Linked DNA regions of Homo sapiens: region 2 is linked to region 1. The links are contacts of gene promoters, found by promoter capture Hi-C in blood cells and fetal thymus (Javierre and others, 2016). All regions are on one chromosome and are shown on one strand. Each heading gives the region's core, a stretch centred on a gene start or on the middle of the fragment in contact. The rest is flanking DNA. Distances are from core to core; before and after follow the strand shown. Region 1 holds the start of H1-1 (H1.1 linker histone, cluster member). Region 2 has its middle 6.0 kb from the start of H2BC11.

The links. The method cuts DNA at HindIII sites, captures the fragments that hold promoters and counts their contacts. A CHiCAGO score of 5 or more calls a contact.
Region 2: a fragment that was not itself captured here is called in contact with the fragment with the promoter of H1-1 in region 1 in 1 of 17 cell types (activated CD4 T cells); the score reaches 5.1 in activated CD4 T cells.

Annotation. Positions count from the first base shown.
Region 1 is chr6:26,016,246-26,019,282 of GRCh38, reverse strand. It overlaps H1-1 (H1.1 linker histone, cluster member), which reads left to right and starts at 1,496. Exons shown (of 1, transcript NM_005325.4): 1 at 1,496-2,251. The coding sequence starts at 1,551. The coding sequence ends at 2,198. It also overlaps the pseudogene H3P26. RefSeq lists an enhancer at 2,304-3,037. The HindIII fragment of the contact is 5,921 bases long and covers 1-2,829 here.
Region 2 is chr6:27,125,270-27,128,306 of GRCh38, reverse strand. No RefSeq gene overlaps it. Among named protein-coding and RNA genes, the nearest start is that of H2BC11, 6.0 kb to the left of the region's middle. RefSeq lists enhancers at 931-1,000, 1,211-1,260. The HindIII fragment of the contact is 5,241 bases long and covers 1-3,037 here.

The DNA of each region.
Region 1 (3,037 bases), core at 247-2,746:
TCGCTTATTACACTAAGAAAGGTTTATATCTTTCACAAAGGGTTTACTTACAAAAATCTTCCAATTTTGTATACCTGTGTTTCATAACTGACTAGCCGTCAAACCAAGATGTAGAGTTTCCAACCGTTATTTTCCAAATTTTTAGAAATTACGTGAAATATTTGAATGCATGCCTTCTCAATAAAATGGGACGTAGGAAGCACTGGTGCAGAAGATGGGTACAATACTTATCTGGGACCACTCCATTATTTGGTTGGCACGTTGTTTGAACAAAAAGGGGAAAAGCTCAGGTTACTTAGCATGGTTCGGACTTATTTGAAAACTACCACAGCAGGAGCGGAAATAAGACCGCATTACCTCACTCTCTGCTGTGCTGTGCTAGGGGGTTATCCAGAATAGGATTGTAGAAGTGGATGTCGATTTAATAGTTTTTTATTCTCCCATTAGCTGAGTCTCTGATTGGCAATGTGAGATCGTTTTAGCTTATTGATACTTTGAAATGCACTTAACAGCCACAAACAAGTTAAAGGGTTGTTACCATAAAATCTTATCCCCAGGGTGTGCTTGCATTTATCACCCGTGTTTGCTTTCACACTAAGTGGACTTAACTCCCCAGCAGAATGCCTGTCAGGGAACCGGTTTCGTGGACCCAGCATTTAACGCCTTTCGCAGGCTTGTGAGGCCCATAAATATTTGTTGAATAAAAGAATGAGTTGACCATGTCATGGTGCGCTGATTGCGTGTGCTGACATGGAACACAGGTTGTAAACCTTAATACCAATTTGGGGCATGTTGTATGGATGAAAAGGGCATTGGAAATTCCTGAAGTGCATCCCACATTGGACTGTGGAAATAAGTTGCAAGTGCAGAAACGTTTCCACACTTGCAGTTTGAGTATTAATTGCAGCGTTTGTGAATTCTGGTGTTGTCTACGATTCATTCTTGTTTGACGTGAAAGGTATTCGCGAGACACATCGCTCTAAAACATTGCCAGAAAATGTAATAGAGTTGATGACAACTGGCCCTAACACGGCCTAAAACTCGCACTTTTCTCTCCCTCCGCAACTATTCAAAACACTGTATTTTACATTTCTTGCAAATTAAAAACTAACATCTCTGGCAACGGACCTCTAAAAATTTCTAATAAAACTCCTCGGATGCTTGTGGCACTGCATTTGTAAACCGCCCCCTCTCAACCTACTCCCTAAAAAAGAGCTGCTTTTTGAGAGAGAAGCGGTACCCTCTGATGTTACTGGGCGGCAGTCTGCCTACAATTTCCTTCACAATGAGGCAACCAGAGCGGCTTTTTCTGTGTGTTTGCTTGCGTTGAGGGGAGCAGGACCATAGGCCCTAGAGGCCCCCAGCTGCCTTCTGAGACTGGGCGAAACCCTCGGCAGCGCGCAGGGGGCGCTAGGGCGCGAGGGGCGGGCACTGACGGGCACCAATCACGGCGCAGTCCCACCCTATAAATAGGCTGCGTTGGGGCCTTTTTTTCGCATCCTGCTTCGTCAGGTTTATACCACTTTATTTGGTGTGCTGTGTTAGTCACCATGTCTGAAACAGTGCCTCCCGCCCCCGCCGCTTCTGCTGCTCCTGAGAAACCTTTAGCTGGCAAGAAGGCAAAGAAACCTGCTAAGGCTGCAGCAGCCTCCAAGAAAAAACCCGCTGGCCCTTCCGTGTCAGAGCTGATCGTGCAGGCTGCTTCCTCCTCTAAGGAGCGTGGTGGTGTGTCGTTGGCAGCTCTTAAAAAGGCGCTGGCGGCCGCAGGCTACGACGTGGAGAAGAACAACAGCCGCATTAAGCTGGGCATTAAGAGCCTGGTAAGCAAGGGAACGTTGGTGCAGACAAAGGGTACCGGAGCCTCGGGTTCCTTCAAGCTCAACAAGAAGGCGTCCTCCGTGGAAACCAAGCCCGGCGCCTCAAAGGTGGCTACAAAAACTAAGGCAACGGGTGCATCTAAAAAGCTCAAAAAGGCCACGGGGGCTAGCAAAAAGAGCGTCAAGACTCCGAAAAAGGCTAAAAAGCCTGCGGCAACAAGGAAATCCTCCAAGAATCCAAAAAAACCCAAAACTGTAAAGCCCAAGAAAGTAGCTAAAAGCCCTGCTAAAGCTAAGGCTGTAAAACCCAAGGCGGCCAAGGCTAGGGTGACGAAGCCAAAGACTGCCAAACCCAAGAAAGCGGCACCCAAGAAAAAGTAAATTCAGTTAGAAGTTTCTTCTAGTAACCCAACGGCTCTTTTAAGAGCCACCTACGCATTTCAGGAAAAGAGCTGTAGTACACAGATGAAATCCCCCAAGCAAATGCAACACGCCCTCAATTATATTAGAATCACTTGGAGAGTCGATAGAACTTTAACATAGCCTCATCTAGTAAGAATTTACTACTCAATCTATCAAAGATAGCAAGGTGAATTCAAATGCACCGAGTTAAAATCGAGTTTTAAAGTCACCTGGGTTTCGGTAGCCGGAAGTCCCGCGTCTCACGACTCCAAGCTAATTAGTCATAACCGTATTGAACCAAGGTTGAAGCCCAGTCCCAGGCTTGAGGCTTTTTATTATACAAGGTTAAAGTGGGGATATTGCGTTTTGGGGTCAATATTGCTAAAGTAGCATTTTCCGAAATTGGGTGGTCCTAAGAAATGCTTCTGGGATAGTTGGCAAAATATATGGCTTAACCACGCCCTCTCCACAGGAGTGGCTAGCGAGCTGTCTGTCCTTGGGAAGGACGGTGACCCTGCTGGCGTGGCTGGCGCCCACGTTGGCGTCCTCTGAAAGCCCCGCCAGGTAGGCCTAGCTCGCTTGCTTTCTGCAGCGCCATCATGACAAAGCTTTGAAACGCAAAATGCTTTCTTTGTGCAGCGCCTTACCATGGGTGCACTTACGGGCTGTCGACTTGGTTTAGGCCCTTGTCAGGACAAAGGAGCTTAGTTTGTTGGAGTTTTAGAGCTGCAACCCAAAATCCCTTGCTCGGTTTCTCTGTTTTTAGAAACGGAAGCGCCCTGATTGGATATTTGAAAATTACTGTGCTTAACTGGATC
Region 2 (3,037 bases), core at 166-2,665, 1.1 Mb before region 1:
TGAGGCAGGCACATCACGTAAGGTCAGGAGTTAGAGATCAGCCTGGCCAACATGGTGAAACCTGGTCTTTACTAAAAATACAAAAATAAGCCAGTCGTGATGGTGCGTGCCTGTAGTCCCAGCTACTTGGGAGCCTGAGGCAGGAAAATCACTTGAACTCGCAAGGCAGAGGTTGCAATGAGCTGAAATCGTGCTACTGCACTCCAGCCTGGGCAACAGAGAGAGACTCTGTCTCAAAAAAAAAAAAAAAAAAAAAAGAAAGAAAACAAAATATTTTTTCCCCAACACTTTTCAAAGAATGGTTTAAAAGCAATGACAATCCATGATCAGTGAGAATTCCCACCCAGATTATGGTCTCAATTCCTTTTTCAAAGGGCAGTCAGGCTACTTGGAGACTTGGGTAAATCTATGGATTTTAATACATTCAAGAGGAACAGCAATCAAATGCCATATTTGGATCTGGTGGGATCTCATTCAGACAAAATATAAAAATATTTGAGACAATTCAGGATTTTCTTTCTTTAAGGGCTAGGTATTGGATAATGTTACACATCATTTTTTAAATTTTCTTAGGTGTAAAATCTTAGCGTTTTTTCTTTATATCCATATCTGTTAGGATATTTGTGAAAATATTCATGATTAAAATCACATATTTGGGATTTCATGTTTCAGATATTTTTTAGACTCCCTCATCTGTCAGTGTGGGTGCGGATAATGAAACAAAATGGGCAAGATGTTGGTAATTGTTGAAGCCTGTGCGACGAGACTTGGGAAGTGCAGGATTCTCTATATTTTTGTGTCTGCTTCAGGATGTCCATGACCACTCCCTTTCCCCTCCAAAAAAAAAGTTAAAAAAAAAAAAGCTGGCCAAATCAGTGAACATATTTCGTTTTTGGTCAACAAAGGGCTACCCTGAGAGGAATCTACATGCAGAGAAGTTCAGGAGACTGAACTAACGGAACGTCAGGAAGCGCTGCGGGCTGGAGAGCTGCTGTTGGAACAGGGAGGAGTTCTCCGGGCCGCACCCTGCCTCCGTCCCGCAGGCGAGTTGAGAAGCGCTATCGCCATCTTGTGGCGATAATGGATGGGATAATGTAGCTAAAACTTTGTTTAGTTTTATGAGTTGAGAAGGGCTGTCGCCATCTTATGGCAATAACGGATAGGCTAATGTAGCCAAAACTTTGTTTCGTTTTATGATTTCGATTAGGCATTTCATTGCTACGGTTTAATAATTGAATATACAAGAAATACTATAAACCATCACATCCCCAACAGCCCCCAGCCGCCCAGTTCCCCCATCTACTTGGCAAAGATTCTCTTTTTGACCAAACTCTAGGCGGCTTCTTCTGAGCCCTCTTCTGGACTAGGTGGCCACCTTGGTCTATAAAGACCTGAACAAACCCGAACATAGTTACTAATAGCCCCGGTCTTCTCAAGTGCCTGCCTGAGAAAACTCAATTGATGCCGCCAAAGGAATTTACTGTTTGTTTCAGTCAACGTCTGAAGATAGGGCCCTCGTCTCCCAGGCTCTGGTAGGAGTGGAGCCTGATTTTGATATGTGCCAGTTATGAAACCCAGATGGTTCCCCACTGTCAGTGGTTACTAAATAAAATCTGTTTTCGTCATTTAAAGTAAGGCCTGGTGTTTTATCTTTGATATACTACAATTAACCACTTTTATTCGTTTCCTGTGTACCTGTCTGGAATATCTTTATACAAACACAAATAAACAAATGTGTCCCCTTTCATTCACATTTGCCCCCTTTCATTCAAATGACTGATGGTCACATGTTCTTCACAGGTTCTGTCTCTTGCTTTTCTCATTAACTGTCTTTCTTATTGCAGGTGGAGTGGCTGAAACTTCTCAGCAGGCGCATCTACACTAGTGACCTGAGGAGAGAAACCCTAACCCCACAATGGCTGCATCTTCTCTGAAGACGAGACTGATGCTCATCTTTGAAATGAAGGGCAGTGTGTGCATTTCTCCATGAAGGTATCCAGAAACAGCCATGCCAGAGCTGCTGTGGGGTGGCTGAACTGCTATTCCTTTTCTAGGGTGGGATCCCCACTCTTTGTAAGGAAGGATATTGGGGTCCTGACACTGGGAACTCATCTTGTCAGTGAGGCCTTCTTTAACTGCTGTCTTGTAATTGAGCCACCCCATCTGTGTTTCCTGTTCCAATTTAGGACTTTTTTTTTTTTATCATAATATAAAGATCTGAAATGCTATGTTTTCCTTATTCATTGGCTTATTATCTTTACTATCCCATCCTCCACACTAAAAGTTTTTTCGAGCTGGATTTGGGAGTTGTGGGGTAGGTTATATTTTGATCACTTGTATTTCCCAGCTTCTAGAACAGTGCCCAGCAAAGTACTTCTCTGAATAAATGAATAAAGTAATATTCCTCTGCTCTGCTGTTGCCAACTGGAATATCCTGAGGGAAATTTCTTTACTTTCCTCAGGGGATGATCCAGAAGATGAAAAACAAATTGTCATTCCATATAGTCCTCTTCTGAGTGTTTTTCAGTTTTGTTAAAACTCAGATTTTTTCTTTTTACCTGAATGTTTTTTTGTTAATGATTATTAGCATATACAGTATTTTCTTTTATGTACCAAAAAAAGGCAATTGATACAGTGCATGACTTGAAAATATACCTGCCTTCTCTGAGGCTCAAATTCAGGACTGTATTATTTGGAAAGCCTTGTTGGGTTGTGGCTCCCAAGAAATCATACCTAATTTCCCTTCTTTGAGAGCACTGATTTCTGAGTTTCCATTTCTCCTAGAAGAGAAACATTGGCTTGTAAGAATTTATGTATCATCAATGCTTCCTTTTCCATCCTGCACTTAGAAGGACCCAAGACTTGAGGGCTGCGCTGTCAACACTATTCCTTGCTCACCCTCTCTTTTGTTCTAATTATTTATGTCTTCCCGCCTTCAGAAATATCAGTTGCTCTTTCACCAGCCATTGTTTCCTCTCTGGCCCTAGTGCAGAGTAGGTGACGTAGTACAGCTGAAAGGATGAATGCTGGCAAACTT